4 separate regions of the Homo sapiens genome follow, and regions 2, 3 and 4 are each linked to region 1. Evidence: promoter capture Hi-C in human tissues and cell types (Jung and others, 2019). All regions are on one chromosome and are shown on one strand. The core of a region is centred on a gene start or on the middle of the fragment in contact, and the rest is flanking DNA. Distances in the headings are between cores, read along the strand shown. Region 1 holds the start of NT5C1A (5'-nucleotidase, cytosolic IA). Region 2 overlaps MACF1 (microtubule actin crosslinking factor 1). Region 3 overlaps LOC105378667 (a long non-coding RNA gene). Region 4 has its middle 23 kb from the start of PABPC4-AS1.

What was found. The method cuts DNA at HindIII sites, captures the fragments that hold promoters and counts their contacts. A contact is called where the count stands out against the background at its distance.
Region 2: a contact is called between a fragment that was not itself captured here and the fragment with the promoter of NT5C1A in region 1, in 4 of the 25 tissues and cell types used here (dorsolateral prefrontal cortex, hippocampus, mesenchymal stem cells and 1 more).
Region 3: a fragment that was not itself captured here is called in contact with the fragment with the promoter of NT5C1A in region 1 in 1 of the 25 tissues and cell types used here (mesenchymal stem cells).
Region 4: a contact is called between a fragment that was not itself captured here and the fragment with the promoter of NT5C1A in region 1, in 1 of the 25 tissues and cell types used here (dorsolateral prefrontal cortex).

The regions. Positions count from the first base shown.
Region 1 is chr1:39,668,433-39,675,630 of GRCh38, forward strand. NT5C1A (5'-nucleotidase, cytosolic IA) reads right to left here and starts at 3,675. Exons shown (of 6, transcript NM_032526.3): 1 at 3,472-3,675. The coding sequence starts at 3,606. RefSeq lists a silencer at 3,458-3,867. The HindIII fragment of the contact is 3,595 bases long and covers 2,094-5,688 here.
Region 2 is chr1:39,459,133-39,461,834 of GRCh38, forward strand. MACF1 (microtubule actin crosslinking factor 1) reads left to right here. Exons shown (of 101, transcript NM_001394062.1): 91 at 1-117; 92 at 1,500-1,662. Among named protein-coding and RNA genes, the nearest start is that of BMP8A, 31 kb to the right of the region's middle. The HindIII fragment of the contact is 6,947 bases long and covers 1-2,702 here.
Region 3 is chr1:39,833,464-39,840,661 of GRCh38, forward strand. LOC105378667 (a long non-coding RNA gene) reads left to right here. Exons shown (of 4, transcript XR_947221.3): 4 at 4,414-4,492. It overlaps TRIT1 (tRNA isopentenyltransferase 1), which reads right to left. Exons shown (of 11, transcript NM_017646.6): 11 at 4,647-7,198. Among named protein-coding and RNA genes, the nearest start is that of LINC02811, 20 kb to the left of the region's middle. RefSeq lists a silencer at 3,440-3,640. The HindIII fragment of the contact is 3,796 bases long and covers 1,411-5,206 here.
Region 4 is chr1:39,538,458-39,545,655 of GRCh38, forward strand. It overlaps the pseudogene PPIEL. Among named protein-coding and RNA genes, the nearest start is that of PABPC4-AS1, 23 kb to the right of the region's middle. The HindIII fragment of the contact is 4,869 bases long and covers 1,932-6,800 here.

The DNA.
Region 1 (7,198 bases), core at 2,425-4,924:
GACCCCAATCCATCCCGCCCCTGGTTGTTGCAAGAAAAACGTCCTGGTTGCATTGGCCCCAAGAGTCCTCTGCTTCTCTCTTTTCCAGATGGGGAAACAGGCCCAGAAAGGGGCCTGTTACTCTAGGTCAAGGCAGAGCAAGATGACATCTCAAGTCTCCGGCCTCTAGCCTGGCCTCTATCCACACTGCAGTCCCCTTGCTATTCCTCTCCTCAACAGTTCCCAGAAGATTCTATCCCTTGCTACTTCCGCCTTCCCTGGAAACATCTCCCCCAGCCTTCACTTTCCAGATTTGGGAGAAATGATCAGGGCGTGCCCACAAACTGAGGTTTCTAACGGCAGGTCTCTGTTTCCCAGCAGAATGGGGGTCCCAAGGGCAGGACTGTGCATCCCCACTTAGACTGCTGTGACACAGTATGAGTGAGGTGGAGTCTAAGATCCCAGAGGCCATGGCTGTGTAAGAAATATGGATCCCAGCTGGGACTGATGAATGACCTGTCCAGGCTCCAGGTGGAGCTGAAGGAGCAGGTGAAATGGGCTGGCCAGAGATAGGGACAAGTTGTGGACATAGAGACCCTCCTGGGCCTGGCCGCAGAGGTGGCCATGTGTTGGCAGGGGCATCTAGGAACAGTTCCTCCAGAGAGCAGAAAGAAGCCCTGATCTCAGACTGGGAATTGGGTCAGAGTGACTCAAGGGCTCACTCTGGGAGCTCTGAGCTCCAGGAAACCAGGGTGCTGGCAGCTCTCTCTGCCTTTCAGGGTCAGGCTGATGGCTCCGGCTAGGGGATGGGAATGGAAGAATAACAGAGTGCAGCCCACCCCCACCTGGACTTCCTGAGGAGCTCCCATTTAGGCTAACGTAATTCTGCCTATTGGGTCCAAGATAGAAACATAGGCAAAAAGCTGTTATTCCCAGTAGGACTTAGAGAGGGAAGGGCTGCTGAAAGAGAGAGGGACAGGAGAGTTTTGGATTGAAGAAGTGTTCTGACCCCATGAGGTGAGGGCCTCCAACAGGCCTTCAGGCGTTAAATATTTTACTCAGGCCCCTGGGAATGAGAATTAGCCCAGGCCAGGCCATGATGGGGCCCATGAGGCCTAGAGCCCCCAAAATAGCCTGTGGGAAGAGGGGCTTCTGCAGGAAGGAATAGGAGCTGGGAAGCCTCCAGGCTTCTTGCCTCCCAGAGAACCATGAGAGTCAGGGGCTGATCCAGGGGTCATGACTGACAACTGGGCCTGAGCTCTCCGGTTCCTTGGTGCCTGGGGAGGAAATGGATTTTGAGCACTGATGCTTTCACTGCCCCAGTCCCCAGTCTCCATCCCTTCTTCTGCATCACTCAGGCCACAGCATTGACATTCATCCAGCTTCCTCTTCAGAGAGGCACCAGCCTTCTCACTGGTGGGTTTGCTGCCGGACTCACCCTTTCCAATCCATCCCAGAGTGATCTTTCTAAAATAAAAATGGGACCCAGTTAATCCCCTGATGAAAAATCCTGTAATAGCTCCATAATGGTATTCATATGTTTGTTTAAATGTAGGTTGACCTTTTATTTAAATGAATTCAAATAAACTTTGAATTCAATATGTAAGCCAGATATTACCATATATCTCATACCATATGGTACCAGATATAACATATATAATTGGTGTTTATTTATTTTACAGATTCAAATGCATTACATTTATTTATTTATTTATTATAAAGTCAACCAATGAAAACAACACAGTTGTTTGCATGACAACAAATTTGAAACTAGCGGCTAGAATGCCAGTGCAGACTTAAGCTTCAGCATCCGGCCAAGTTGTTGCTGTGTTTGTATTTGTACAGTATTGAGAAAGTCCTGATTCAGACCAATAAGTGGTTGGAAATGCTAAAAGGTTTTTTGTTTTGGTTTGTTTTAAACTAAAGGCCTTACAATCTCAAGACGCTCTTTGATGGAACAGATCACAGGGGAAGCCTTATTCTGAGCTTTGCTTTAAAAAAATCTGCAGCACAAGCTAGTGGCCTTCAAGCTGCTAAAATGTCCACCTAATACATTAGAGTGAGTTGGGTTTTATTACACATTTTTAATTGTTTAAAACATAGTCCGAAGAAGAAAGAAAATAAATTGGATTCACATGTGTGCAGACTCCCTGAAACATGGGGCTTGGGGAAGCTAGTTTGGAAATCCCTGACCCCCTTGAGTAAGGTCCAGACTCCTTAACATGATCCCCAAGGCCCTCTGTGGGCTCTTCCACATCCCTCCAGCTCTTCTTCCAACAATCCTGCATTCTTCATTCAGTACTTATTCAGGAACACAGTCCTGAGCTTCAGAGACATCTGCATGACTTTTGCCTGTCCTGTTTCCCTCTCCCTGGGAAACTCCACCTACTCAGGCTTTAAGATCAGGATACGTGCCACTTCTACAAAGCTTTCCCCAGTGTGATGTCACTACTCTACTCCCCCCCCAACTCCCCTAGGCTCTCATCTCTGGAGCCTCCATCATTGTGCAGTGAGCTCCTGAGGCAGGGACTCAGGTTATTTAATTCTTCAATCCCCACTCTTGAGCAGAGCTTGGAGGTGCTAATTGAATGATTGCTGATAGGGTGGACCTGTTGGGGAAGGGTTCTTGGAGGGAAGCAGCAAATTGCTTTAAGATCAAGCTGGAGCTCTTTGGAGGACCGCTGTGGGCCAACCTCTATTCTCGGTTTTCTCCTCAAGCTCTGAGATCTGGGAAGTTGGAGACAGCAAGGTCCAGGGGCAGACCAGGGCATCATCAACTTGTTTGATGGCAGAGAGGAGAGAGCTCCTCTGTGAGGTCCCAGACGGTTGACACCACCACAGGGTCGTGGGGATGTTAATGCCCACTGCAAGGGGAGCAGAACCCGAGCTGGGGGGCAGAGTCCAGCGCTGGGAGCCTGCGGCCAGGGGCGCCGATCGCCCCCCAGCGCAGAGTGTGGATCCCAGTGCCTGGAGAGAGCAGCTCCCTTTCCTTAGGACGCGGGGAGCGCACTGCCCCCAGCCCAGGGCCCAGGACCCAGAGCCAGACCCCAAACGCAGAGTCTCAGGTCCGGAGCCCGATGCCCAGATGGCGGAGACCGGAGCGCACAGCCAGGAACCGGGTTCCCAAAGTCTGGTTACCCGCGCCTGGGGCGCTTCTGGAAGCGCTGCGGACCAGCTTCGCCAACAAGTGCAATCCGCGCTCCCCGGCGGCCCGAGTGGGGAGGGGCTGGGGCTGCGGGCCTCTAGCTGGGCCCTGATGACAGCATGGGGGAGGGGGAGCCTGGCGTGGAACCCGAGTCCCGGTAAAAAAATACACCAGAGCAGAGCTCCCAAAATAAACCCGAGCCCGCGCCAGCTGCAGGGCGCATTCTGGGGCTGAGGAGCTGCGTCCCCTCCCAGAGGGGCGCCACGGGTCCCTTCCCAAGAGACTTATGACCCCTCCTCCGGGGTAACCCTTCCCCCGTCCCCCGCATACCCGTGCATTGCTTTTACCGATTTGGGTTTCTTCTTGGGCGCGAGGTTGTCGTAGAAAATCTTGGCTTCCTCCCAGACCGGGGCCGCAGCGGTCTCCGCTCCTGGCCCGGGCTCGCGGGGCTCCTGGGGCTCCCGGGGCTGCCCAGGTTCCATGCTCCGGCTCTGACCCGGCCCGGCCAGAGCAGGCGGCGGCGTAGACGCGGAGGTGGCTGGGGCTGGGCTGCAGGAGGGAGGCGAGTCCCGGCGAGGGAAGGGGGCGGGCAGCGGCGAGGAGGCTGTGCGTGTGAGCTGGGCTCCCCGCCCGCCGGGCGGGGGGAGGTCACACTGGCCCTCTCGGTCGCCCGTGTGTCGCTGCCGCTGCTGCTGCTACTGCTGTACGGTATGAGGGATAGCTGGGCTCTCCTTCCCCGACCGACCCACGCCAGCAGCCGGTTGGGTGGTGAGGGGGGCTCTCTGGCTCTCTGGGTTTGTGGGCTGCAGCGGATTGGGGATTGCGAAAATGATGTTCTTCGCAGGCGCTGCAGGGCGCGGAGACAGGAGAGGCCTGACAACTTTTTTTTTCCCCCAGGATAGTGATCCCCAAAGGACAAAATGAAAAGCTAGCCGCTCCCCTCCCAAAAGCTAGCTGCCCATCTTTCCTTTAGGAGCTAGGACCCTGGGATCCTGACGATGTCCCCTTCCCTCCGAGGCCAGTCCATCCGGCAGACGGGCAGGAGGTGATGCATGGATGGCTCCTCTCACTAGCAGAAGCCTGCTCCCAGCGGGAGCTCAGTGAAGGGCCCAACCCGGCAGCTCCTCCACACCACCTAGGAGGGGCCCTTGAAGTCCATGTTGAGACCAGGCTCGGGTGGTCTCAGGTCGAGACCTTGGCCTGGGGTGGGGACCCAGGCCAGAGAGACTCCCAGGGACTCTGAACCCGAATTCTTGCTGGCCCTTTGGTGGTCAGCAGAGGGCGCGCATTCCTAGGCCCCCACCTGCCCAGCTTGGGGTGATTTGTTATAGGCCATGAAGGGGCTGGATAGAGGGAGGGCAGAAGAGGGGCCTCGGAACTACCATCCTGGAATTCCAGGGTGTTGTCCCTCTTGATGCAGAGCTCTGTACTAGTCTCAGGGTGCAGACACAAATGTCACCCATCCCAAGGTACAGGCCAGGAAGCAGACAGCCTCTCTCAGAGGTGTGCATGGGTGGGTGGGAGAAGCAGGAGAAAACACTGGCTTAGCTAGGAGGGCCTCTGACTGGGGAGGTGAGGGGGCTACAGAATGGAGTGATCCCCTCAGCCTCCACCAGGTCCTGGGAGGAATAAACCAACCCTTGTGTGGGAGGAAGGGAAAAATCATAATAAAATGTTAGGATTGGGGGAAGTGTGTTTAGACTTACTTCTAGAAGATTGTTTCCAGAGATGGCCCAAAAACCTCTTCCATCCTGCCTGTCCTTTGGAAATGTGACTTTGACATTCCTCCCATTCAGAGGTGGAGTCCAGTCTGAGCTGGCCCTGTGACTTGCTTTGACCAATTGAATGGAGTAGAAGTGGTGCTCTGTGGTTTCCAAGCTTACGTCTTAAGAGGCCTTGCAGATTCCATTTTTGCCCTCTTGGGAGCCAGCTACTATGTAAATAAGTCTGGACTATCCTGCTGGAAAGGCCACGTAGTGAGACAGATAGGACCTGGAGGATAAGAAGCTAGCGACAGCCCAGGTGACTATAGGCACAATTGACAGACATGTGAATGAGGCCATCCTGGCTGTCCCAGCCCCAGCTCAGCTCCCAGTGGAGTGCAGCTATGTGGGTGACGCCAGCCAACACAACCTGAAGCAGTAAAACCTTCCAGCTGAGCCCAGCCAACTCACAGAATCATCAAAAATAATAAATTGTTGTTTCAGGCACCAAGTTTTGGGGTAGCTTGTTACACTGCAATAAATAATTGAAACTCTAGGAATGAGGTCAATTATTCTCAGGTGCCTCATGGAGAAGAATGATGAAGTAACTCAGGAAGAATACATAGAGTGGTTACTTGGATGGAGGTGGGCACTTCACACAAAAGTGAGCCACCCCCATGCTGTCCAGCGGCCTTTAATCTGTGTGATTGGCTTGAAAAGATGACCTGGGCCAAGCAGATTTGTCTTTCTCAGGAATTTGGAATTGGGAAATGGGCTGGGCAGTCAACCATTGGAATAGAAGCTGAGGATGCTGTGAAATACAGTTGGCTCCGAAGAGACCTGGGTGAGCCTCAGCAGACTGCAGTTATATGCAAAGTAAAGCTCGGCGCAGGTGGAGACTCTCTGAGCAGAATGAGATGAGCAGCAGATCAAGATGGGAAAGGATGTGCAGAGAGCAGCACATGAGAGAAACCATGCTGCCCTGAGATGGAGCCGCCTCTGCTCCTGACAGTTTCCCAAGTTCTAGCTAAGGCCTGGCTCTGGTGCCCATCTCTACACTTTCATGAGATTCTCCACATTGTTTCAACAAATGCCCCCAAAAGGAAATTTGGTGGATTGTGGTTTTGCTTGAGTGGCCACTTTTCCCGGCCTCTCTTTCTAATAAAAAGCCCTGCCTCCCTGGTTTTCTGGTCAAGAAGTACCAGACCTGGTACAGAGACCTGTAACTGAGACCTGACCAATGGCGGAGCCCTGTGTCCCTGGACACAAGGATGAGCATGTGACCCCAGCTGAGACACTCTTCACTCTTATTTAGGGCTTCTGGGAGATTTGGCTCTTTTTCTCTGAGGTTGTTAATTTGGGGCAATGTGAGCTGGGAACCCATTTGGCAGGTGAAAGAACATGGAAGAAGCACATCTGGAAGGACAATGGTGCCACAGAGAGAGAAGCAGAAGGAGGGAGGGAGAGAGGATGCAACTGAGTTTCTGGACCCAGCCATGCCTGAACTTCCCAATTACATGAGCCAATAAGCCTCCCTTTTTGCTTAAGCTTGTGTGAGTTGGATTTCGTTCACTTGCAACCAAAAGTCCCAACTAATCCATTCCCCTTTACTCACCCTGCCATGAGTAGGCACTGTTCCTTGCCATCAAGGAATCCTGCCCAGACTCCTGGTTCAGTCCCTTTAAGAACTTTCCCCGGGCCGGGTGCGGTGGCTCATGCCTGTAATCCTAGCACTTTGGGAGGCCGAGGTGGGTGGATCACAAGGTCAGGAGTTCAAGACCAGCCTGACCAACATGGTGAAACTCCATCTCTACTAAAAATACAAAAATTAAAACTGGGTGTGGTGGGGTGCGCCTGTAATCCCAGCTACTCAGGAGGCTGAGGCAGGAGAATTGCCTGAACCCGGGAGGCAGAGGTTGCAGTGAGCCGAGATCATCGTGCCACTGCGTGCCAGCCTGGGTGACAGAGCGAGACTCTGTCTTAAAAAAAAAAAAGAACTTTCCCCAGATCCTTCTTTGGAAGGATTAGAGAACTTGATCCTTAACTGTTCTTTCCACCCTTCCAGGCTTCTGGCCATGCTCTCTGGCTTGCCTGTCACTTGCTAATAGCTGGCTGGGTGCAGGGCTTCCCTGGCTCAGGGTTTCTGGACTCCAGCCAGGACTTTGCCTCCAGGTCCAGCACTTCTTCAGATGAATAAGCTGGGAACAGACCCTGTAGGGCATGACTCCAGGAGCCCCACACCTGGCTGTTCCCTTGGAGAGCCCTGCTCCAGCATGCCTGGCCCTGTTGGCTAATGTTTAGTAAGACCTGGGGCAGATGCCACCTCCTCCATGAAGCCATGGCTGCCCTTTGCTCTTTACCTATTCCTCAC
Region 2 (2,702 bases), core at 1-2,500, 210 kb before region 1:
CAGTCTGAAGCAAAAAACCCACGGATCAACCAGCTTTCTGCCCGCTGGCAGCAGGTGTGGCTGTTAGCACTGGAGCGGCAAAGGAAACTGAATGATGCCTTGGATCGGCTGGAGGAGGTAATGCCCTGCTGAGTGGCCTTCCCTGAAACAAAGTGCTTTTTTCAATCAAAACACAGCCCTTCTGAGGCTCTCTTAATGTGAACCTTGTGTCTTAATTTACTTTTTCACAATAGAAACAGACCTATACCAAGCCAGTACTCATTCTTTGAGGCCCCTGAATGAGAAAAGACACATGTGTAAGAAAACCGTTTGTGACAGAGTAGGCTAAAGCTTCTAGGTGTGGAAAGCAAGAAAACAGCCAGTCCATAATGAGGGCCAGGACCTGATCTGCCTCAGCATCTTGCTGTGGTTGGGAATCAGGAACAGAACTTTGGAAATTTATCTCCAGATATGTAGCATAGCACAAAAATGACCCTTGTTGAGCCTTTCATGTAAAAACAGATGCTACAGAATTATGAAATAGGAGTAATTTTTAATGATTTTGTTATTAGTCTTCACTTGATCATGAGAAGCAACTCTATTTTGAAGTGTCATTACCCAGTATAAAAAATATAGTACTATGCTTCCTAGTTTCTAAAACAAGCCTCTAATATCTTTTGTATTTTTTTATTTGTGCATATCAAAGCAGCTATGCCTGGAAGTGAGTGTTCTGTGTTTTGTTTATTTTTTCCTTAGGTCAGTTGACTTTTAAGCTTATTGGGTTCTTGGTGCTTTTTTCCCCCATTCCTTCTAACTTTGGAGTTTGAAAGACCAAGGGGAAACTGCTGCACTCTTTAAGTCATTTTGAGTGTATATCATTAACGTAGACTTAAGTAGCTGAAAATTGTCTTGCCCACTGCATAGGCCTGCTGTTTTCCATCAAGGCCAAATATTTAACATGGAGGTCAGATGGGCAATTTGCTCTCTGGTGCCATTCCAAAGAAACATGCTTGGATACAACATTGGGTTCCCAATGCTTCCATCCAGAACTCAGATTTTCTCATTGAAATCTCAGAAGATAGTGGTAAACACGAGCCTCCTGATATGAGCCCTATGTGTGATTATAATGCCTTTCAAAACAACATAATCGAGGAGTGCTAAGGACCTCCCTTCTGGGTTAGAATCCATTTCCTTGCATCTAAGAGAGTGATCCTTTGAAAAGCCCAAAGGGAAAGCAAGGCTGGCTTCACCCATTCTCATTCTGTGTGCTCCATATTTTCCATGGTGATTCAGTTATTGTTTCTCTTGCTATTCCATTATACCATAGCTCGTGTAAATAGTCATGGCTTTAAGTGAAAGAGCCAGATTGTGCCTTCACAAAAGAAGCAAACACATAGATTTCATTGTTGATGGCCCCTGGAAGCATGGCTTTACTGAATGTCTGAAAGTTTGGGTATGCTCTGGGCAGCTTTTGAGGGCCCAAAAAATAAATCTTATTGACACTTCTGATTTCTGTGTAGTTGAAAGAATTTGCCAACTTTGACTTTGATGTCTGGAGGAAAAAGTATATGCGTTGGATGAATCACAAAAAGTCTCGAGTGATGGATTTCTTCCGGCGCATTGATAAGGACCAGGATGGGAAGATAACACGTCAGGAGTTTATCGATGGCATTTTAGCATCCAGTGAGTCTAGTCATCATTCCAAACATGGGTCACACCTGGATTCCTTGCACTTTGTAGAAGCTGTGATATTCTAGCTAAACAGTCTTTCTGAAGCTGGCCAGGAGCTTGGCTCACACCTGTAATTCCAGCACTTTGGGAGGCAGGTGGCAAAGGCATGGTGGCACACTTGCAGTCCTAGCTACTTGGGAGGCTGAGGTGAATCACCTGAGCCTGGGGAGGTCAAGGCCTGCAGTAAGCTGTAATCGTGCCAGTGAACTCTAGCCTGGGCAACAGAGTGAGACTCTGTCTCAAAAAAAAAAAAAAAAAAGACAGTGGTTAACCAGAGGTTTTCAGCTGGGAAACAATATGATTTGGTCTGTGTTTTAGTAAATCACTGTGACTACTATAAATAGTCACACTTCCCTTTGTATAGCAATTTGTTTAGAATCTAAGACAATAATCTAAACATAGGAAAACTTCATGCTATTCCAAACTGTCACTATTCTGAAATAATCTAAATATCCAATAATTGTGGAGTGGATGAGTATATTCTTGAGTTGAGTGGTAGGACTGTGGGTGGTTGTAATATTATGTTTATGCCTTTTGGTATATTTGAAATGGGGAATATTACCTTTTTTCGTTGCATTTGGGGTAGGGGAGTCTATAAGTGGATATGTATTATTTTTCAGGAAAAATCAAGACATAAATTTTTTTGCTCTTAAGAAGTATTTCTGGCCAGGCGTGGTGGCTCGCGCCTGTAATCCCAGCACTTTGGGAGGCCAAGATGGGTGGATCACTTGAGGCCAGGAGTTCAAGACCAGCCTGGCCAACATGGCAAAACCTCGTCTCTACTAAAAATACAAAAAAAATTAGCCGGGCCTGGTGACAGGCGCTTGTATTCCCAGCTACTCTGGAAGCTGAGGCAGGAGAATCACTTGAACCAGGGAGACGGAAGTTGCAGTGAGCCGAGATTGCACCACTGCACTCCAGCCTGGGCGACAGAGCAAGACCTTGTCTCAAAAAAAAAAAAAAAAAAAAAAAAAAATCTATAACCGCCAACC
Region 3 (7,198 bases), core at 2,059-4,558, 160 kb after region 1:
CACCCTTCTCCTCTGGGAATCACTCCACCTCCACTCCATCCTTTCCATGGGAACTGTCCTGTCCTTTCAGGAATCCATCTCCAGACTGGCTGATGGGCCTCAGGATAAGCACTAGACTCAAGCTGGGCTAAAAGATCCCTTTCCTGGGACTTTTACTTTTAAAAAATGGTGGTAAAATTCACTTTTAAGCTTATAGTTCAGTAATGTTAAGTGTATTACAGTATGAAAGTGTATTAAGTAGTTTTAAGCGTATAGTTCAGTGGTGTTAAGCATATTCACATTGTTGTGCAACTAATTTCCAGAACTTTTGCATCTTACAAAACTGAAACTCTATCCCATTAAACTTCTCCATTTACCCTTCCCTCCACCCCCAGCCAACACCATACTGTTTCTATGAATTTGACTATTCTAGATACCTCATGTAAGTGGAACTATACCATATTTGTCTTTTGGTGACTGGCTTTTTTTTTTTTTTTTTTTGCTTTGCTGCCCACGCTGGAGTGCAGTGGCGCCAAGGCTCACTGCAGCCTTGCCCTCCCGGGCTCAAGCATCATCTCACCTCTCATCCCCGAGTGCTGGGTAATAATTCTTTTATTTTTGTAGAGGTGGGTCTCATTCTGTTGCCCAGGCTGGTCTCAAAACTCCAGGCTCAAGCAATCCTCCCACCTCAGCCTCCCAATGTGGCATGAGCCACTGCGCCCGGCCTGACTGGCTTTCATGCAGCATAATGTCCTCAAAGTTGTAGCATGCGTCAGAACTTCCTTCCTTGCTAAGGGTGAATATTCCATCATATGTACTTACATTTTGTTTATCCACTCACTCTTATTTATTTTTGAGATAGGGTCTGCCTCATTCTGTCACCCAGGATCTGGAGTGCGGTGACACAATCACAGCTCACTGCAGCCTTGACCTCTTGGGCTTAAGTGATCCTCCCACCTCAGCCTCTTAAGTAGTTGGGACTACAGGCACACACCATCACACCCAGCTAATCTGTTTATTTTTTGTAGAGATGGGCTCTTACTGTGTTGCCCAGGCTGGTCTTGAACTCCTGGGCTCAAGCGATCCTCCTGCCTTGGCCTCCCAAAGTGCTGGGATAACAGGCACAAGCCACCATGTGCAGCCCTTAGATTCACTTTTTTTTTTTTTTTTTTTTTTGAGATGTAGTCTCACTCTGTCGCCCAGGCTGGAGCACAGTGGCGTGATCTCGGTTCATTGCAACCTCCACCTCCTGGGTTCGAGTGATTCTCCTGCCTCAGCCTCCCAAGTAGCTGGGATTACAGGCCTGCGCCACACCCAGCTGATTTTTGTATTTCTAGTAGAGACAGGGTTTCACTATGTTGGCCAGACTGGTCTCGAACTCCTGACCCCAGGTGATCCACCCGCCTCAGCCTCCCAAAGTGCTGGGATTACAGGTGTGCACCACCACACCCGGCCTAGATTCACTCTTGATGGACAACTGGGCTGCTTCTACCCCTTGGCTATTGTAAAGAACGCTGCTATGCAGAACAAGGGTGTATCTCCCTGAGACCCTGCTTTCAGGTCTTTGGGATATATCCCCAGAGGGGGGACTGCTGGATCATATGGCGGTTCCCTTTTTAATTTTCTGAGGAACTGCCATACTATTTTCCACAGCAGCTGTACTATTTTACATTCTCACCAACAGTGCAAAGGGTTCCAATTTTTTCACATTCTTGCCAACACTTGTTATCTTCTGGGTTAATTTGTTTTGTTTTGTTTTATAGCAGCCATTCTAATGGGTACGGGGTGTCCTAGGGCTTTTGAACTTAGAACCAGAGAAAACATCCGCACAATCTGTCCCCAGTTGTCAAGGCCATAAGAGGTGAAACACAGGTGCTACTAGCAGCCCTGTCTCCTGCCATGTAGAGAAAGCCTGTTTACAGTGAGAGAGGAGTGAGCTGATTTGCAGAGAAAAGAGAAAGTCTCTAAAGCCTCAGATTGGGTAGTACAAGTTGTGGCTGGAGCCTAGATACTTTCCTGCCCTTGAATTTGATGAGACACCTCATTAACCCAATCATAAATCCACCTTTTTACTTAAGTTAGAGTTGTTTCATTTGCAACCATGATTCTTGCCATAAACATCTTTGTACAAGAGTTAGTTCTTCAGTCTTTTCTTTTTTTTTTTTTTAACCTTTTCTTCCTTTGATTCTTTCTTAGAAGTAGATGGGATATAAATAATTTGTACATTCAAAAACCCTAAATTTGTACATTCAAAAACCCTAAAGAAATGCCCTTGCAGAAGTAGAGGGTTGTGGTTAGAGTATGAGTTTGGAGTCAGCCCAAACTGGCTTCAAATCCTAGCTCAACAAATGTTTATGGGATGTGTTAACTAACTTGATGGTGGTATAGATAGATAGATGGATAGACAGATAGATAGATAGATAGATAGATAGATACACACATACATATATACACATATATAAAATCACTTTATATAGTTTAAATATATATAATTTTATCTGTCGATTATATCTCAATAAATCTGGATAAAAATAAAAGGCTGACTTCAAGTAAAAAAACAAAAACACAAATAAGTGCTTTTAAGCAGCAGGCCCTTGTAGATGCCAGGGATAAAGCAGTGAACAACAGACAAACATCGCTGCCCTCACCAAGCTTTATCTCTGCTACTCGGCAAATATTTGCATGTTTACTCTGTGCCAACCACTGTTCATTAAGCTGTGTTTATAAAATGGTGATAACAGATTATCTTGTCCGTTTGTTTTAAGGAATCATTATAACGTATGCATGTGCTTGATATAATGCCTGACACACAGAAGCACTCAACACAGAGAAGCCATGTCTACGTTTAGACAGGGAGGTGTGTCTTGCAGAAATTAGCCTCGATATACATTGGGTGCCCACTATATGTTCCACAATCATCTTAAAATAGTACTCAGATCCTGGCAGAATTTACTTTCCAGTGGGAACAAGAGATAAATAACAGGTGCTATGAGCTGTGGCAAAATAATGAGCCAGAACAGACTCTGGAGCCACCCACCTATTTTCAAATCCCAGCTTGCCCTTGGGAAAGTCACCTAACTGCTCTACTCAGTTTCCTCAGTTGTAAGACAGAGACAACAAGAACAATGACAAAACTACCTCATAGGGCTTTGTGAGGATTAAATGAGTTAATATGTGTAAAAGTGCTTAAAGCAGTGCCTAGCTCATAGGACTACCTAAGCACCAGCTAATGTTAACACTATTACGTATTAACTGCTAGGAGGAGAAATTAAGTCTCCCTAGAGTCAAAGAAGCTTTTTCTAAGGAGAGGACATCAGATCTGGGCCTTGAAGGATGTGCAGGAGTTCACTAGGTAAAGAGCAGGGGAAAGGACATTTCAAGGGAAGAAAACAGTTCAAGCAAATGAGCTGACCCATGGAAGAAATCATATCATTGAAACAAACAAAACTTAACAGCTGAAGCCTAGGTGGGTGGCAGCTGAAGCCCGAGGCACCGTTTCTGGCCATTAGTACTATAGTCCACCAAACTAGTCAGTCTTAAGTCAGAGCTTGCCCTGATAACTTCCAAGAAATGATACCATATCATAAACCAACATTTTAATAGCATTAACAATTTTTCCCCAATGAAGCAAATAAATCCAATTTGTACTTACCATTTACTGGGCACTACAGTGCCAAAACACTATGCTATTTACAACAGGACCTCACTTAATCCTTACCATGTCCCGTGGAATACAGATAACTTCATTTTATACATGAGGAAACAGGCTTTTAAGCAATATTCCCAAGATCACACAGATAGTATATTAGAAAGTAAAGTGTTCAGCTGCAAATACAAATAGTGGTTTCTTTCTCCCCCTGTCCCCTCCCTGCCACATAAAGTCTGAAAGTAGGCAGTTAAGTCATTAGTTCAGTTATTCAACAATGCCACCAAAACACCTTCCATCTTTCCTCCCCACCATCTTTACAGTATGAGCCACTGGCCCTGATGTTTATACAGTCTCCCATTCCCTATAATGCTTTCTTATTCTCATCTTAAAGTCCTACCAGCCAGGATTTTCTCAAGCTTTACTTTTTGAAATATTTCAGAGGTCAGCTCAATACAACTCACTAATTTCACAGATGGAGAAATAGATTTGCCCCTAGCAAACTGAGTTAAATTAATTAGTTAAATGAGCCTGGAATTGAGTGCTCCTTCCATGATACCAATCTAGTGGTGACTGTAAGTTGCCCACCAAAACCTGTCCTCCCATTCCTTCTTGGCACATGGCTTGACTACGTTTCTCAGCCTTCCTGGCAGGTAGGTGTGGCCATCGGGCTAAGTCATTGCCAATGGAAAGTGAGAATGTAGGCAGAAGTATCCGTGCCACTGCAGGGTCCAGGCCTTGAGGCAGCGGGTCTACCTCCTCCCTGTTCCTTTTCCCCTTCCCATCAGCTAGGACCAGTGATGACCCAGCTTCAAGCATGCAGCAGATGAGGACAATGCTCCAGAGGATGGAGAAGCAACATGATACGAGGAATCTGTGTCCCTGAATGACCATTTGGTGCACAGCTGCCCCAATGACCTGGATCACTCACTTCAGACAGGTTAATTCCCTTCAGAGCTGTTACGTGAGAAAGAATAAACTTCTTTGTTCTTTAAGCCACTGTATTGTTGAGTCTCTTTGTTATAGCAACTTAGCCTTTTACCTGAACTAATACAAACATGCAGCTTCCTTTGTAAGCATTCAGAGTAGCTTTACAAATAACCAGTTAGCCATCATTTTAGAAAACAGCCTTAACTGCCCAAGTAGGTGATAATCAAATACAGAAATTCCTGCTGGTGGCTATCCCAAAATTTCTTCATCCTGGTTAAAAAGTATTTAACAATTGAAGCAGATCACTTATGTAGAGACCTACTTAGTTTTTATGCTTTCATGCAATTGATTCAACAAATATTTGACTGTGTCTAGGTGCTAGGGATATTGACAAGTCACTGCATTCATAAAAGGTTGATTTCATGCATGTGTGTTTGGGGGAGGGGGTTGTTAGTTTTATTTTCTTTTTGAGCAACATGGTCTTGCTCTGCCACCCAGGCTGGAATGCAGTGGCATGATCATGTTTCACTGAAGCCTCAATCTCCCAGGCCCAAGCCATCCTCCTACCTGAGCCTTCCACGTAGCTGGGACTATAGGCATGACCCACCATACCCGGCATGCATACATATATATATATGTAAGTATGTATGTATGTATATATTTGTGCTGACTGGGTCTCACCATGTTGCCTAGGCTGGTCTCAAACTCCTAGGCTTGAGTGATCCTTCTGCCTCAGTTACCCAAAGCGTTGGGATTACAGGCGTGAGCCACCACTCCCGGACTGTTATTTTTTAATGTTATACTGGGTGTTTTGTTTTGTTTTAAGCAAAAAAATCCTCTTTGGAACTAAAGAGAGCTAAGAGAGGACAAAAAATTACTGAGAGTTAGGAAGGATCAAGCCATATTCCTGGAATACAGATGAGCTGTTCTCTTGCTTAGCCCTAAGAATCAAGCAAAGTATTTTCAAGTCTAGATCTCTCTTCAGAATCAAAGTACTTTCTACCCACTTACAACAGCACTGCCTGAACTGTGAGAAGTATCTAAAGCCTAATCAAGATTTTTACTGACAGAAGCAGATGAACCTAATAGCTCACTGAGTATTGGAATTAATTGCCAAAGCCATTTAGATAGCACTGCTGGTGTGATGGACTGGAGGCTCTGGATACCTGGACTGGAGGGCTCTGCTTGCCTTGGGATTGCTATGGCCAGATGGTACAAAATGGCATTCCTCATTCTCACTCCAGGCTGAGCAAATAGCCCAAAGCTCTATGGTACTTTTCAGCTCTCAAATGAGATTTGGTATGAGATTTAGTAATAGAGTAAGAAAGGTGATCTAAGGTTTGTCCCAGCTTTGCCTTGCTCTGTGACTGGAACATCCATGTTTTAGGCCTCAGTTTCCCCATCCATACAAGAGATAAAGAATTCTTTCATCTCTACATTTACGACCACCACAAGACAAATTACTTTCCTTCCCTACACTCAACAGCGAAGTCATTCATAGGGGAGCAGGCACAAAAGGGGAAATCTACTCAGGGCAATGCTTCAGACCAGAGCACCAGGCAGATTTCTAGTGAGTGTTCTGCCTTTCCCAGGCTCTTTGCTGCTGATAAAGGAATTTCATTTGGCTGAATTTACAATTTCTAAGAATATGAACAGTGGGCTCAACCACACTGCCTTACACTTAGTAAGTGCTTCATAAATATTAGACACTTTTTTTTTGGTAAAAAAGGCCTGATTTCCAATTGCCATAGAGATAACAATGAGTTCAATGAGAAGTTACTGCTCCAGGTATTTCAGATGGAAGGATTAAAAGCTTTTTGACGTACAATTATTAAAACTAGTTTTTCCTGCTTGTCTACTGAAACCTTTTTAGGCTTTAAAACATACTTAGCAACTTGAACGAAGAATATTTCAGAGAAACTAAAGGTTCTTCCCTACAAACTGCCAGCTTAACACAGTGCTTAATAGCTTGAGTCTACCAGCCTCACCTCAATTCCAGCTCTACCGCTTGCTAGCTGTACTCCATTGCTGAGCCTTAGTTTCCTCCCTGGTTAACAGCAAAGGAAACAGCATCTCCCTCCCAGGGCTGTGTGAGAAGATAACATATAAAAACGACTTGGCACTGCTTGGCTCACAGTAAGTACTCATCTCCACTCCCACCGGGAAGATGTGGCTTCCCACCTTGTTAGGTCCTAAAGTAGTTAATAAACTTCTTTGCCCAGAGAATAAATTTATTTTTGAGATTCAAATCAGTTAAAAGTGGGTGAGGCTCTGGAATTCAGCACTGTTTAAAAAGGTCAATCAAGTTAGATAGTTTTTTTACTCTACCTTCTCCTCTATGAAGTCTTATATGCATAGGAAACAAAACATTTATCAAGAATTGCTTTTCAAGGTGCAGCAGAAATGCTCCTCCTTCCATGATCCCTTCCCTTCCTTCTAAACTGAAATTCTACACAGCTCTTACGGCCTTTGATACTGTCTTGCCTGGATTGGTGTTTGTGTACACATGCAATTATTTATAAGCTCCCTGAAGGCAAGAACCACATCTCATCTCTGCATTCCCTTTAGCCTAATTCAGGGCCTCTCATAGAGTAGATTCTGCACAAACAAAATGTATTTGAATGGGGAGTTAACGCTTAAAGG
Region 4 (7,198 bases), core at 3,116-5,615, 130 kb before region 1:
ACGAGGCTGACATGGGAGAAAGGGAGACAGAAAATAAATAAGTAAAATAATAAATGTATAACACAATTTCAGGTAATAAGCGTAAGAAGAAAACTGAAGCTGATTAAAAAGAAGAGTGAGGTGGCAGGAAAGCCTGTTTTAGGGAGAGGTCAGGGTAGGCCTCTCAGCCAAGGGGACACATGGGTGGCATCTGAAGGAAGTGGGTGTGAACCATCTGGACAGTGGAGGAAGAACATTCCATGAGAGAAAAGGGCATGTGCAAAGGCCCTGAGGCAGGAGTGAGCTCAGCATGTCTGAGGAACAGCGAGACTGCCTATGGATGCAGAGGGCGAGGGGCAGCACATCCTAGGGGCACAGAGAGGTGCCAGGACCCAAGGTGGGTTAACCCTGTAGGACAGCGTCCCCACGCACAGCGCAGGATGGGTCAGCAGGAGGATGATGTGATCAGATTTATGATTAAAAACAATCACTCTGACTGCCAAGTGAAGATCAGACTATGAGGGTGAAGAAGCCAGGCTGGAAACAGGACTTGGTGGTCGTGGGGGAAGGGTGAAGAGTAGCTGGGCCAGGAGATGACCTGAAGTCAGATAGATGTGGCCTGCAGGTGATGCAGGAGTCCATGATGACGCCTAAGTTTCTGACCAAGCAGCTAAGTGGATGGTGGAGTCATTTACTGAAACAGGGAAAAGGGGGAGGAAGGGTGTGGGGGAGAAGGCCAAGGCCACATTTTGGACATGTGAAGTGTGAGATGCTCGTGGGATATCCAGCAAAGGTGAAAGGTAGGTGGTTGGACAGGAGTCTGGAGCTCAGGGAGCCATCAGCATGGTGACCCATGTGGACAAGCTTAACTCGGTGATTTCACTGAAAGTCCTGGGACTGGGCGGCGTGATTGCCCAGGGCATGGGTTCTCAGTGGTATCATACTGCCCCCTAGGGGCTACCAGAAACTGCAGTCTATTTTTGGTGGTCAGTAATACGGTGCTACTGGCATTGGAAGGAAGGGATCAGGGAGGGACTCTAGATGTCCTGCAGTCTCCTACGTAATGGAGAGTTACTCTAAATCCTGGACTTTCAAAAGCCCTGAATAACATTCATGTAGATAAGAAAAATCTATTTATAATGATCTGAGCCTACACCCTAACTCCATGTTCCATATAAATCCAAAGAATTATTTTTTTGTATCAAATTTTTCCAGAAATCAACCCATCCTGTCACTTTTCATTTCTTTTTGCTCAGAATTTTACCAAGAGATTTTTACTATTTCAAAACATCATGTTACTTTGATTCTGCCAAAACAACACACCTGAATCAGTCCACACTACTAAGTGCAGCTCTAGGCAGAAGTACACATGTTCAAGTACTTCATACATGTAGTTGCTTCCAAGCATTTGAATACTGAAATGCATATTATGTTATTACAAATTGTTTTCCTTTAATTTCCCTTTATATTACAACTATGAAATAATACTGTGGGGTTTTTCGTTTGAGACAGAGTCTCACTCTGTCACCCAGGCTGGAGTCCAAATGGTGCAATCTTGGCTCATTGCAACCTCTGCCTCCCCAGCTCAAGCCATCCTCCTACCTCAGCCTCCTGAGAAGCTGGGACTATAGGTGTTCACCAAGATGCCTGGCTGGTTTTTGTATTTTTTGTAGAGATGGGGTCTTGCCATGTTGCCCAGGCTGGTCTCAAACTCCTGGGCTCAAGCAATCCTCCCACCTCGGCCTCCCAAAGTGCTGGGATTATAGGCGTGAGCCACTGCACCCAGCCAATACCGTGTTTTTAATTAGGCATTCACTGGAAGGGTGCAGAGCTGTGACTTCCATCTCAGCACACTAGAGCATGAGCTGTAAGAGGCAGGTGCTAGGGTAAAAGGGTGAGAACTATTGAGGTAAAGAGTGAATACAGATACAGAAAAGCCATGGTGAGCACTGGGTCCCTCCAAAAATTTAGAGACTAGGAGGAGGAAGAGACAAGGGAAGAGACTGAGGGAAGACACCATGGGGCAAAAGGTAGGAGAAGAGGGAGGCCACCATTGTCACAGGAAGGCAAGCAGGCCAGGCAGGAGAGAATGATGCAGGCAGGGGAGTAGATCTGGCTGCAGGAAGACTAAATAGTTCTCTTCTGATTGTTTCTATAAATAAGCGACACCATCAGCTGAGAGGGAGAGTGTATGAAGCAATGCTGGAGGGCTGAGGAGTGAAGAAAAGGCGTGTTTTCCAGTCAGACGATGGATGACAAGTACCTCCAGCAATCTGGGAGGACCACTGGGCATTGCTCAAGGTGCCCTTAAGACCTGAGCTCCTCAACTCAAGAGGGACCAGATAGCTCAGGGCTGTGCTTTTCTCTAGCACACAGAGTTCTGCACTACGTAAGAAGGAGCACGAGAGAGGCAGCGGGATCCTTGGCAAGAGGAAGGAGAGTGCATGCAGCGACGGCGCGTGAGATGTGAGTGAGGCAACAGGGCAGTGTGGTGTGGGTGGATGGGCAGCGCATCTATGAGTCTAGGACACGTGCCAACCATGAAAAGCCCCAAAAGGATGACGTGCTGTCACATGAGGAAATCTGAATATGCACTGCAGTTGAGAGAATAGTATTGTAGCAGTGTTTGTTTTCTGATTTTGAGAACTATGTCCTGGTAACATTAAAAATACCCTGTTTCTTATGAAATACATGCTGAAGTATTTAGTGGTAGAGGAACATGAACTCTCCAACTTACTTTCAAATGGCTCTAAAAAAATACGCACTGTCTATAAAAATACACAGAAGGAGAATAAATAGGAAATGATGTTCACCAATATAAACAACTGGTGAACTTGAGTAAATGCCAGCAAAGGTGTATGGGGTTCATCGCACTATTCTTGTAACTCTTCCGTGAGCTTGACATTACATAAAATAAAAAGTTACAAAAACAATAACAAGACACCCCTGTAGGAGCAGACCCAGGCGTCTATGCTTCTTCCTCTTTTAATGAAAGGAGACAAATGGGAACTGAAATAACCCAAAATAAAAAACAGAAAAGCTTTTCAAAGCCCAAAGCTAACTCCACCCTAGCAAGGCTGAACGGTTCTCCTGTGTCTGGTAGCTGGGTCTCCTCCAGATTCCCTGTTTCTCAGCCAGAACCACGGCTCATCCTTCCACCCTGCACGGCCAGCTGCCCTCGCCCAGCCTCCCTTGTCACCACACGATGAGTGGTTCCTACCTGGTCCTGTGTGTTTGAAGATAAAGTTTTCATCATCAAATTTCTTCTTGTAGATGGACTTACCCCTGGTGCCACCGTGGTTTGTGAAATCACTGCCCTGGCAAATGAACTGGGGGATAATGCGGTGGAAGCTGCTTCCCTTGAAGCCGAGTCCTTTAAATGGGTGCACATGTAGAGAAAATTCTCTGGGATTGAGAAAGAGAAAAGTGCTGAGGTAAGAATATCTAACTAGATAATTAAAACTCCAGCTCTCTGTAACATGCCATCTCTACAAAAATAAAAATAATCATTTGGGTCCCAGCCACGGTGGCTCATGCCTGTAATCCCAGCACTTTGGGAGGCCAAGGTGGGTGGATCACCTGAGGTCAGGAGTTCGAGACCAGCCTGGCCAACATGGCAAAACCCCATCTCTACTAAAAATACAGAAACTAGCTAGGCATGGTGGCACACTCCTAGGTGACAAAGTGAGACCCTGTCTCTGAAATAAAATACACACACACCCCCAAACTCCAGCTCTCCAAATCTAAAAAAGTACATAGTACCTTTATTTAAACTAAATGCTTAAGTGTGGAAGTGGCACACAAATAGATAGAACAGACTAGGTGAAAAGAAGAGAAAGTCCCGAATAGACCCAGAAACGTATGAAAATTCAGTATTTCAGCTAGGCATGGTGGCTCACATCTGTAATCTCAGTACTTGGGGAGGCCAAGGCAGGAGGATTGCCTGAGCAGAGGAGTTGGAGACCAGCCTGGGCAACACGGCAAGACCTCATCTCTATTAAAATATATACATAGGCCAGGTGCGGTGGCTCGGGTCTGTAATCCCAGCACTTTGGGAGGCCGAGGTGGGTGGATCACCTGAGGTCAGGAGTTCAAGACCAGCCTGACCAATGTGGTAAAACCCTATCTCTAATAAAAATACAGAAAATTAGCTCGGCATGGTGGCATGTGCCTGTAATCCCAGCTACTCGGGAGGCTGAAGCAGGAGAATCACTTGAACCCGGGAGGCAAAGGTTGCAGTAAGCTGAGATCATGCCATTTTACTCCAGCCTGGGCAACAAGAGTGAAATTCCGTCTCAAAAAAAAAAAAAATATATATATATATACACACACACACACACACACATATACAAAAATGTATATATATGTGTATGTATGTATATGTGTGTGTATATATGCATATATATGTGTGTGTGTGTGTGTGTGCGTGTGTATATATATATATATATATAAAGGAATTAAATATTTCATAAAGCTTGGCATCTTAAATCACTGGGTCAAAGATGGACTTTCTATAAACTGGTCTTAGGACAACTGAATAAACATTTGGACTCCCCCACCCAATTATGCTAGGCAGCGATGACCTGAGAAGGTATATAATGACCAGGAGCTCAAATCCCCACAGACAAAGGTCTAGGTCACCCCACCTGATAAGCCATTTAGATTAGCAGAGGAACCAGCTGAGGTGAGGATGAGAGGTATCTAAAATGGATAGCAGAGGAGGGAGGCCAGGCGCCGTGGCTCACACCTGTAATCTCAGCGCTTTGGGAGGCAGAGGTGGGTGGATCACCTGAGGTCAGGAGTTCAAGACCAGCCTGGCCAACATGGTGAAGCCCTGTCTCTACTAAAAATATAAAAACCAGCTGGGCATGGTGGTGGGCGCCTGTAATCCCAGCTACTCGGGAGGCTGAAGCAGGAGAATCACTTGAACCCGGGAGGCGGAGGTTGCAGTGAGCCAAGATCATGCCATTGTACTCCAGTCTGGGATTACTAATAGTAATATGAGTATATTTTTCAGAGACATAGCAATAAAAGCCCAAATAATTAAAATAGTTAAAAGAAATGAATGTTGCCTCTGGCAGGGCAGAAAAATTATGTTGGGGGAGCAGAAGAATGTTTTATTATAGAACGATTTTCTTTAAACTATGTGCAATTATGACTTTAAGAAACATTTTTAAAAGCTAGATTAAGACAAAAAAGATTATGGGTAAAAAAAGGTCATCATGAATACTTAAGAAAAAAAGGAAAACACAACTGTCAATTGTAGCTACCTCTGGGAGATGGGCTGAATAGTAAGGAGAGAAAGTTTTAGTTTCTGATTGATACCCTTAAAAATAGTACTTTTCTGGCTGGGTGCGGCCGCTCATGTCTGTAATCCCAGCATTTTGGGAGGCCGAGGTAAGAGGATCACTTGAGTCCAGTTCAAGACCAGACTGGACAACATGGCAAAACCCACCATCTCTACAAAAAAAAATACAAAAGGGCTGGGTGCGGTGGCTCATGCCTGTAATCCCAGCACTTTGGGAGGCCGAGACGGGCAGATCACAAGGTCAGGAGATCGAGACCATCCTGGCTAACATGGTGAAACCCCGTCTCTATTAAAAATACAAAAAAATTAGCTGGGCGTGGTGGTGGGCACCTGTAGTCTCAGCTAATTGGGAGGCTGAGGCAGGAGAATGGCGTAAACCTGGGAGGCGGAGCTTGCAGTGAGCCAAGATTGCGCCCCTGCACTCCAGCCTGGGCAACAGAGCAAGACTCCGTCTCAAAAAAAAAAAAAAAAAAATTAGCTGGGAAACATAGTGAAACCTCCATCTGTACAAAAAACAATAAAAAATTGGCTGGGCATGGTGGTGCATGCCTGTGGTCCCAGCTACTTGGGAAGCTGAGCTGGGAGGATCACTTGAGCCTGGAAGGTTGAAGCTGCAGTAAGCCGTGATCACATCACCGCACTCCAGCCTGGGCAACAGAACTAGATCCTGTCTCAAAGAAAAAAAAAATAGCATTTTTTCCAGTGAAGACACTTGGCAAATAACTCCTTAACCAAGTCAACAAAATTAACATTGCAAATATCTGAAATAACATCATGTACTTCCTCAAACGATGCACTAACACACTGCTTCTGTGCTATTGATGCCAAAACACATAACCTCAATCTAATCATGAGGAAGTACTAGGCAAATACAAACTGAGGAGCACCCTTAAACACAACTGGCCTATTCTCTTCAAAGATGTCAAGATCAAAAAAGACAATGAAAAATTAAGAAACGGTTTCAAATAAAAGGAGACTAAAGAGACTTGACAACTAAATCAACATGGGAATCCTTGTCAGGGAAGAAAAATTGCTAAAAATTACTAAAAAGGACAATATTGGGACAAGTGATAAAATTTGAATATAGCTCATCACTCAATGTTACATTTTATAATTTTGATAGTTGTACTCTGATTAGGCAAGGGAATATTCTGGTTCTTAGGAAATATATACTGAAGTATTTGGCAGTAAAGGTGCATGGTCTTCAACTTCTCGACTGGAACAGGGGAAAAATACATATACGCATCTGTGTGTAATGTATGTAAAGAAAATGATAAAGCATACAGGGCAAAAAAAGGAAATTAATGAGTAGGTAAAGGATATATGAGAGTTCCCCTAACTGCTTTTTTTCTTTTTTCTTTTTCTTTTTTTTTAAGACAAGGCCTTGCTCTATTGCCCAGACTGGAGTGTGGTGGTGCAATTATGGCTCACTGCAGCCTCAACCTCCTGGGCTCAAGCAATCCTCTTGTCTCAGCCTCCCAAATAGCTGGAACTATAGGCACATCGCACTATACCCGTCTAACTTTGTATTTTTTGTAGAGATGGAGTCTTTTGCTGTGTTGCCCAGGCTGATCTCAAACTGCTGGACTCAAGTGATCCTCCCACCATGGCCTCCCAAAGTGCTGAGATTACAGGTGTGAACCACTGCACCTGGCCCCTTGAAATATTCTTACAGAATTCTTATTCTATATATCTGTAAGTTTGAAAATATATCCAAATAAAATTACAAAAAAAAAAAAACCCAACAATAAAACCAAACCAGAGGATAATTAAAACTGTTTAGAACTTTTAGTTGCCTACCCTTTCTAATGGCTCTAAGCCTTTATAGAGCTTCAAAAATGCCTGCTGTGCCTCATTTGTTACTAGATGCTGGGATCTGAGACGCCTCAGATGGAAATAGTGTTAAGGGCC